2 separate regions of the Homo sapiens genome follow, and region 1 is linked to region 2. The links are contacts of gene promoters, found by promoter capture Hi-C in human tissues and cell types (Jung and others, 2019). All regions are on one chromosome and are shown on one strand. Each heading gives the region's core, a stretch centred on a gene start or on the middle of the fragment in contact. The rest is flanking DNA. Distances are from core to core; before and after follow the strand shown. Region 1 overlaps CACNA1B (calcium voltage-gated channel subunit alpha1 B). Region 2 holds the start of DPH7 (diphthamide biosynthesis 7).

Evidence for each region. Contacts are between HindIII fragments. The study calls those that stand out against the background at their distance.
Region 1: a fragment that was not itself captured here is called in contact with the fragment with the promoter of DPH7 in region 2 in 2 of the 25 tissues and cell types used here (H1 embryonic stem cells and dorsolateral prefrontal cortex).

The regions. Positions count from the first base shown.
Region 1 is chr9:137,931,187-137,935,513 of GRCh38, forward strand. The region is part of intron 6 of CACNA1B (calcium voltage-gated channel subunit alpha1 B); the gene reads left to right. Among named protein-coding and RNA genes, the nearest start is that of CACNA1B-AS1, 14 kb to the right of the region's middle. The HindIII fragment of the contact is 9,868 bases long and covers 1-4,327 here.
Region 2 is chr9:137,576,509-137,581,198 of GRCh38, forward strand. It overlaps DPH7 (diphthamide biosynthesis 7), which reads right to left and starts at 2,417. Exons shown (of 9, transcript NM_138778.5): 1 at 2,117-2,417; 2 at 962-1,095. The coding sequence starts at 2,269. RefSeq lists a silencer at 2,103-2,512 and enhancers at 2,697-3,668, 2,763-2,822. The HindIII fragment of the contact is 7,311 bases long and covers 1-4,690 here.

The sequences.
Region 1 (4,327 bases), core at 288-2,787, 350 kb after region 2:
GCACAGATTTATTGAAACAAAAGTACATTCCATAGTGTGGGATCGGGCTCGCGTAAACGGCTCAAGAGCCCTGGTTACAGAATTTTCTGGAGTTTAAATACTCTCTAGAGGTTTCCCATTGGTTAGCTGCTTACACCCTGTGTAAATGAAGACCAGGCCCTCTACCATTCTGATTGGTCATGGGAGGCGACCAATCAGGTACTTTCCATTTTTCGTCTGCGATACAGTGGAATGGGGGGCGTTGCAAAGGGAGTAGCCTCTTCTTTTGTTACTTGGATGTGGAGAGGTGGAGTTTTCCTTTTGATTTAGTTCTAGGAAGTCAGCACAAATCGGCCTTAGGTTCCTTGCCTCCAGACCCTATTCTCCTGCCTCATTTCCCCCGAGATGTGATCCCCATCATCTTTATAGGAGGCCGAGGGACTGATGGTTTTTTCTTCAGTAACTGCTTCATGCTGATTTGGGCACAGTTCCTACCTATTGGGGATCATGGAACTCTCACCCTGCTCTGTCTAGTGGAGACATGGTAGTTGCTGGATGGCCAGGGGTGGTGTCTTTACCTGGAACTGGCTGGAAACCTTGTCTCATGATCATCTGAAGCTTGATGGTCTCTGGGCGAGAGGAAATGAATTTGTTTAAGAGATTTAATGAACATGGTCCAAAAACCAAGGCAAATATAGTCATTAGTGATGGGCCGGCTAGAGGAAGGAGCCATGCACCTCAACTTAGCATTTCTGACCAGGAGCCCCATGACTCAGACAGCTGTTGTCGTATCTTAGGGGCCCAGTCAGCTAATTTCCAGGCGGCATCCCTTACTAATCCTGATTAGTTGACATAAAAACAGCATTTTTCCTCTAGAAAAAGACATAAGCCACCTTTTTAAGCAGTTAGGAGATCCAGTCCCCTTCAATTCTGTAAAGTGACTGCTGCCAAGGAGTCTGTCTGATTTTGTATGGCGACGATACTTTGGGCAGTGTCTTCTGAGCTTTCCATAAAATCTCTGGACAAGTTAGTGATAGGATAGGGAGATTGCAAGCCTGCTAACTCCCGTTTCTACTCTTGCTGTTCTTCCTAACCCAACCAAAAGGGGTGTGAGTTGGATGGCTCATTTGTGTCTGGTGGTTGCAGTTAAAGGTATAGTGAAGAATTGGTTGTTGGGAGCTACATTAATTTTGGGAGCTAAATAACAAGTTACAGGTTCCAGTCCAGTTGGCTGGTAAATCTAAGTAGGAACTGGTCCCGCACGGGAAAAAGGCTCCTTGTTTTTCAAGACAGAACTTGTTTTCTATGGTGAACACATGGGCTAGCTTGTTGTTTTCACTTTCCCATATGGTTGAGGTCTTTGCTAAGGTGGCCCTGGTTAAAGGCTGGAAAGGATCTTGGGAAGTATCTTGAGTTGCCCCAGCAGTTCTCTTTTCCCAGTGGAGGTAGTTAGGCTTAGTGTCCAGTAACAATCACCCAGAGGTATTTTCATACTGGGGAACCAAAAGGCAACTAGACGTCTCAGGATTAGTACATTCTTCACAAGGGAAACCGTGAATGCAGCTAGTGGGCCTGCCTCGACCATACTTAGGCTGTCCATCCTTTAAAGCCCTTAACCAGGGATGGTTTCCATGAAAACCGTACAGGTTATCTAAATGATGCGGTTTGGGTAACTGTATAGCTTACGTAATCGAGTGAAGGATTAACTTCCAGGGTGTAGTTGCATTGATGACTTTATTTTATCTTTACTTTTATTTATTTATTTATTTATTTATTATATTTTTTGAGATGGAGTCTCTCTCTGTCGCCTAGGCTGGAGTGCAATGGTGCGATCTCAGCTCACTGCAACCTCCACCTCCCAGGTTCGAGCGATTCTTCTGCCTCAGCCTCCTGAGTAGCTGGGACTACAGGCGCGTGCCACCACGCCCGGCTAGTTTTTTGTATTTTTAGTAGAAATGGGGTTTCACTGTGTTAGCCAGAATGGTCTCAAATCTTCTGACCTCATGATCTGCCTGCCTCGGCCTCCCAGAGTGCTGGGATTACAGGTGTGAGTTTTTTGTATTTTTAGTAGAAATGGGGTTTCACTGTGTTAGCCAGAGTGGTCTCAAATCTCCTGACCTCATGATCTGCCCGCCTTGGCCTCCCAAAGTGCTGAGATTACAGGTGTGAGTCACCGCGTCCGGCACATTGATGACTTTTCAAGGTTCCAAGGACCGGACCAGAATTTTCGCTTCTGTTAATACAAAGTGGCACCTGCAATTTTAGCTCTGTGTACATTTATATTGGGCCCCAAATTGGTTTCTGAGGGGATGCAACTCCAGAAAGGTTGCTCAGATGGGATTGGAGTAGGTTTACTGCTTATCCTGTCATTGTAACCCTTGTCATTTCCATGATTTTGAATTCATGTATGTCATCCAGGCTCATTAGTTTGAAGAGAGTTCCTCCTTTGTAGTTAGGGTGATAGGTCATTTCCTTAAGGGCCCAAGATTGGGCTGGGATCAGGATGGCAGTATATTTAGATGATGATGGAGATAAACAAAACCAACAGTCCTTTGCCAGGGCTGGGCTGGTGGTATTTAAGTCTTTGTGTTAAATTTAAAGTTCTTAATAAATACCCAGAATCCACTAATTGCTGGAGGGGTAAAGGGAAGCTCTGTTGTGAAATAAAGCTGATTGCTAGTAAGACATGGTTCCTGTATACACAGGCTGTGGGTGACCATTATGGAACAAAAAAAAAATTACTTATTTGTTATTTTGTCCTATAGAATGGGAACTTCAGGGGGTGGATACCTATGCTGTCAGGAATGCTTGTTATAAAAATGAATTGAAACACTTTGGTTAATTATTACAAAGGAAGTGATTCCATCCATTTTGAATAAAACAAATTGTAAAAATATAAAAAATAGCTACCAATATCCAGCTTACGATAAGTATGCAACAAAGACACCAAGGAAAGTTGGTAGGCATTTACTTATTTTTCGGCTGTCTTTTAAACAGGTACTTCACTGTTCCCACAGGTTCACAGGTGTAGTGGCTGATAGGAGCTTCAGGTTCCAGGTCCAGGGCTTCAGTTATTGCAGGCTTGACCCTGGAAAGATGGATCCAACTACCTAATCCTAGTACTTTGACCACAGAAGGCTTGTCCAGCACCACTGAAAATGGTCCCTTCCATTTGGGTTGCAATAGTTGAGCAGGTGATCCCTCTTTCCATGTTTTAACAAGTACCTGATTTCTCATTTTGGAGATCATGGCAGACGGGAGGCAGGACTAGATTGCAGTTCCCACTCGGATGGCCAGAGCAGCCTGTGGAGGATTGTATCGTGAACTTTTGCTCCAGAATGACTGCAGAAATAAATCAGGAAAGCCGAGAGAACCCATAGACCCTCTGAAGGAAGCGGATTGCTCCAGCAGGACCTGGGAGATACCCAAAATACTGTGCTGGTATCCACAGCTGAGAGACCCACAGACAGTTCATATCACAGGACTCTGTGCAGACAACCCCTAGTACCAGCCCAGAACCCGGTAGACTTGCTGGATGGCTAGATCCAGAAGAGAGACAACAATCACTATAGCTCAGCTCTCAGGAAGCCACAGCTCTAGGAAAATGGGGAGAGTACTACCTACATCAAGGGACCACCCCATGGGACAAAAGAATCTGAACAACAGCCTTGAGCCCTAGACCTTCCCTCTGACAGAGCCTACCAAAATGAGAAGGAACCAGAAAACCAACTCTGACAATATGACAAAACAAGGTTCCTTAACACCCCGAAGAAATCACACTAGCTCACTAGCAATGGGTCCAAACCAAGAAGAAATCCCGGATTTACCTGAAAAAGAATTCAGAAGATTAGTTATTAAGCTAATCAGAAGGCACCAGAGAAAGGCAAAGCCCAATTTAAGGAAGTCAAAAAATGATACGAGAAATGAGGGGATAAATTTTCTTTTTTTTCATTATACTTTAAGTTCTAGGGTACATGTGCACAACGTGCAGATTTGTTGCATATGTATACCTGTGGCATGTTGGTTTGCTGCACTCGTTAACTCATCATTTACATTACATATTTCTCCTAATGCTATGCCTCCCCCATACCCCCCACCCCATGACAGGCTCCGGCGTGTGATGTTCCCTGCCCTGTGTCCAAGTGTTCTCATTGTTCAATTCCCACCTGTGAGTGAGAACATGCGGTGTTTGGTTTTCTGTCCTTGCGATAGTTTGCTCAGAATGATGGTTTCCAGCTTCATCCATGTCCCTACAAAGGACATGAAATCATCCTTTTTTATGGCTGCATAGTATTCCATGGTGTATATGTGCCACATTTTTCTAATCCAGTCTATCATTGATGGACAT
Region 2 (4,690 bases), core at 1,167-3,666:
AGGAGGATGACTTGAGGTAAGGAGTTCGAAACCAGCCTGAGCAACATAGCAAGACCCTGTTTCTACAAACTAACAAACAAACAAAAATGAGGTGTGGTAAGGCCAGGCGTCGTGGCTCACGCCTGTAATCCCAGCACGTTGGGAGGCTGAGGCGGGTGGATCACGAGGTCAGGAGATCAAGACCATCCTAATAACATGGTGAAACCACGTCTCTACTAAAAATACAAAAAAATAAGCCGGGTGTGGTGGCGGGCGCCTGTAGACCGAGCTCTTAGGGAGGCTGACGCAGGAGAATGGCGTGAACTCAGGAGGCGGAGCTTGCAGTGAGCCGAGACCGCGCCACTGCACTCTAGCCCGGGCGACAGAGCGAGACTCCGTCTCAAAAAAAAAAAAAAGAGGCATGGTGGCATCTACCTGAAGTCTGAAGTCTCAGCTACTCGAGAGGCTGAGACAGAGAATTGCTTGAGCCCAGGAGTTCAAGGCTGCAGTGAGCTATGATCACGTGACTGCATTCCAGCCTGGGCAACGGAACAAAACCCTGCCTCAAAAAAAAAAAAATTAAAAAGGATAAAAACTGGTACACCTGTATAGGGCATCTCCATTACGTTAAGGCACCACCATGGTATACGTGCTCCATTGTTGACCAAAACATAATTATGCCACACACCACTGCATTTAAATCTCAGCTCCAAAAGTGGGCTAGAGCCTACAACTGTGTTCTCAAACAAAAGACGCCCCAGGTTATGAAGTCAGAAAACTCCCATCACTTCCCCGGCTGGAACATGACAAAGGAAATAAGCCCCAGGTAAAGCACTCCCCAGGTGGAAGATAGGCGGGACAGCAAAGAAACAAATCCAAAGTTGAGATGCAATGCCTGTCTTGTTGAAGGCATCAGGCATCAGGCTTCCCTGATTGCTACTCATGACAAATTCTACACCCAGTGGGATTATCACAGTTATACCATTTCATGTCCAGGATTGCAGAAGTATCTTTTCTTTGGACCTCGACCAGAGGGTGAATAGAGTTGTTGTCATTGAAACTGTACAGGAAGAGACGGCCTAAACGGACCTGAGGCTCCTTAACTTCCATTCCACCCTACAAAAAATGCAGAGGTAGTCTCTGATTATCCCAAGACACGAAGGAACCCAAAGGATGGGAAAAGGGATCCAAGGAACTCAAAGGTTTGCCATGACTAAAGGAGTGGAATTCTGCCTGGAAGGAGAACCTCTGGTTTTCTGAGCTGGAGAAACGTCTATTAATGAGTAGGTGAACACTCCTGGACCCAGTAGAGAAGGCTCCTTCTAAACCGGCCAACAGGGACCAGCTATGGCTAGGGTAACCACAGAACCCAGTTTGCCTGGGACAGTCCTGACTTACGCCTGTTGTTCCAGTGCCCAATTTGGATCCTAATATGTACCCACCAGAAGTTAAGATATAATTCCCACTTTCTCTTTACTGTACATTCCACCCATTCCCTTGGGCCACACCTGTATATAGAAGACGTTCTGCTCTCAAGATTTTAAAGTTGGCCGGGGGCGGTGGCTCGTGCCTGTGGTGCCAGCTACTCAGGGGGTTGAGGCGGGAGGATGCCCTGAGCCCTGGAGTCCGAGGCTGCACTCCAGCCTGGGTGACAGTGCAAGACCTTGTCTCAGAAAAAAGTAATTTCTTTTTTTTGAGATGTAGTCTTGCTGTATCGCCCAGGCTGGAATGCAGTGGTGCGATCTCGGCTCACTGCAAGCTCTGCCTCCCGGGTTCACGCCATTCTCCTGCCTCAGCCTCCCGAGTGGCTGGGACTACAGGCGCCGCCACCACGCCCGGCTAATTGTTTTGTATTTTTTTAGTAGAGACGGGGTTTCACCATGTTAGCCAGGATGGTCTCGATCTCCTGACCTCGTGATCCGTCCGCCTCGGCCTCCCAAAGTGCTGGGATTACAGGCGTGAGCCACTGCGCCCGGCCGAGAACAATTTTTTTAAAAAGATTCTAAACTGTTTCCAGCCTACCTCCTGGCCAAAGGGCCAATATCCCCTCTTCATCTCCTGGGCGATTCGGTGCGCCTTTCGGCCTCAACCTCGTGGCCGGCCCCGCCCTCCCCTCCCGAAGCCGCGGCGCGCGCACCTTGTTCTGGGGGCCGGCAGGCCGGTCCTCCGGCCGCCGCAGCTGGTAGGTCCCGCACGCCAGCAGGTGCCTGCAGCCTTGCAGCGGGCACCACTCCACCGAGTCCGCGGTCAGCTCGGTGTCCACCGTTTGCAGGGCGAAACAGCCCATCATCCAGCCCTCGGGGAAGGGCGCGGAGCCGGCAGTAGAGGCGGGTCGGCGGGGCCGGGCTGGGTACTGCGCGGGGCGGCGAGGCCGGGGCCGGCCGGACGAGCGCAGAGCCCCAGGGACACCGTCAGCGCGGGCCGCCTCTCTCGCGACTCCTTCCGGGGTGCCGGGGCGGGACATCCGGCAGGGCCTTGGCCTCCGTGGACGCCCCTGGGAAGCCAGGCTCCCACGCCCCCTGTCGGCCGGCTGACCGCGGCGGGCTTCAGGCGTCAGACGCGCTGCTCCCTGCGGGGCCGTAGAGACCGAAGGCTTCGGGAAATCCGCTCCTCCACAAAGCAGGTTTGGAGACGGCAAGTTAGTGACAGAGCCGTAGGTTTGAAGCCGCCTCTGCAAAATTTCTATCACTGAGAAAAACCCCAACAGCGAGCTGCGGTAGCGCACCCCGTGGCGCCCTCCCGGTTACTCCTGGCCATCGGGCCGCGCTGACTTAACATTTAGGCTGCAGTTTCCATGACAGGCCTTGCCCCGGAATCAACGCCTTCGTAAAGCTGATGAGGAGCCCGCGCCCCACTAAGCCCAGCACCCCGAGGCCGCAGGCGCGCTCTGCCTGCCTCCTGTGAACCCGCCATGGCGGAGCTGCCCCTCAGAGACCGCCTTCCAGGGTCTTTGCTTGTCTGACACCCGTGGCTGCATCAGGACCCCCCAGAAGCGGCTCAGCAGGTGGACGGCTCCGACCCCTATGATTATCAGCACCAGTCGCCTGGCCGCCGCCCCCCTCCCCCAAAACTGCCTTTGAAAAAACCCCTAACCTAGGAGCTTTGGACAAGATGATCTGAGGACGAACTCCATCTCACATGTGGCCTGGCCGGCCCGTGTCTATTAATTTTTTTGTTTTTTTTTTTTGAGACGGAGTCTTGCTCTGTCACCCAGGCTGGAGTGCAGTGGCGCGATCTCAGTTCACTGCAAGCTCCGCCTCCCGGGTTTAAGCCATTCTCCTGCCTCAGCCTCCCCAGTAGCTGGGACTACAGGCGCGCATCACCACGCCCAGCTAATTTTTTGTATTTTTAGTAGAGACGGGGTTTCACCGTGTTAGCCAGGATGGTCTCGATCTTCTGACCTCGTGATCCACCCGCCTCGGCCTCCCAAAGTGCTGGGGTTACAGGTGTGAGCCACTGCGCCCGGCCCTAAACTTTTTTTCTTTATTGCAATCCACGGTCTGAATGTGTGCAGCGGGCAGGAAGAACCCCTTGGGCCGTTACAGGTTGAACTGTGCCCCCCAAAAAACAATGGACTGAAGACCCCAGCACCTCAGAGAGCATCCTTAACAAACAGGGGCTCTCAGAAGCAGCAGGCGTGGGCCCTGACCCAGAGGAGCAGGAGTCCGCAGAAGAGAAAGCTGATGCAGAAGACTTGCAGGGCCATTGCTGTGCAGAGCACAGGGAGGCAGGCAAGGCACCTGGCAGGGAGGAGGCGTCCGCACCTGAGGGCCCTTGCCTGCGCCTTCATCTGAGACTCCGGCCTCCAGAGCCTAGACTGTGAATTCCCGCTGCTTCAGGCTGCACAGCTCGCGCTGCTTTGTTGCGGCAGCTCCAGGAAGCTAAGGCGGACTTGACTGAAATATACGGGTGCCTGGGTATTCAGCCTCAGGGCTTCAAGCAGGGCTGTGGCTAAAGACATGGCAGAGAGCCAACAGCTCAGACCACCACAGAGACAGAGGCGCAGAAAAGGCTGGCCAGGAAGGCAGCAGGGCATTCCAAAAGGGCCTCAACCACACACCTCTGCGGGGGAGGGAGAGTGACCAGGTGCGCATCCCAACACACCACACTCCAAACAAGCTTTAGAAGCAGCCCCACATTGCAGCCATCTGGATGTCCTCACAGGACGTCTTAGATACCTGGCTACGAAGACCAAGAAGTCGGGGCCACGGAACGGGAAAGATGACCAGAGGATTGGGTATCAGGTGAGAGGGAAGCAGTGGTGGGGCCCGTCCCACCCTCACGGTGCCACCTGCTGGGGTGAGGCCTGGAGGAGCTGCCACATGCAAACCTAGAACCTGCACCGCCCCCTTCCCCAGCGTGGTGTCTCACAGGTGGGAGGCCCTGGGCGCTTCTTTCAGTGCACTTTTCTGATGAATGACTGCCAAACAAAGCAGCCCTGCTGGTCAGGGGCAACATGGCCACACCCCTGGATGCAGGTAAAGGGGACCCCTGCACTCCGTGCTCATCCTCAGACTCTATCTGAAAGCAGGCTGCCTGAGGGCACTCGGGGCTCCAGGCCTGAAGACTGCCCCAAACCCCAACCTGCTGACCCGCCATCTCTAGGGACACATATGTCCCCCTCCCTGGCAGCTTTCACCTACTCAGCAAAAAATGTCCCCAACCTTTGCAGCAGCTAAGGGGGCTTCTCAGGGCCTGATGTGGGCACATG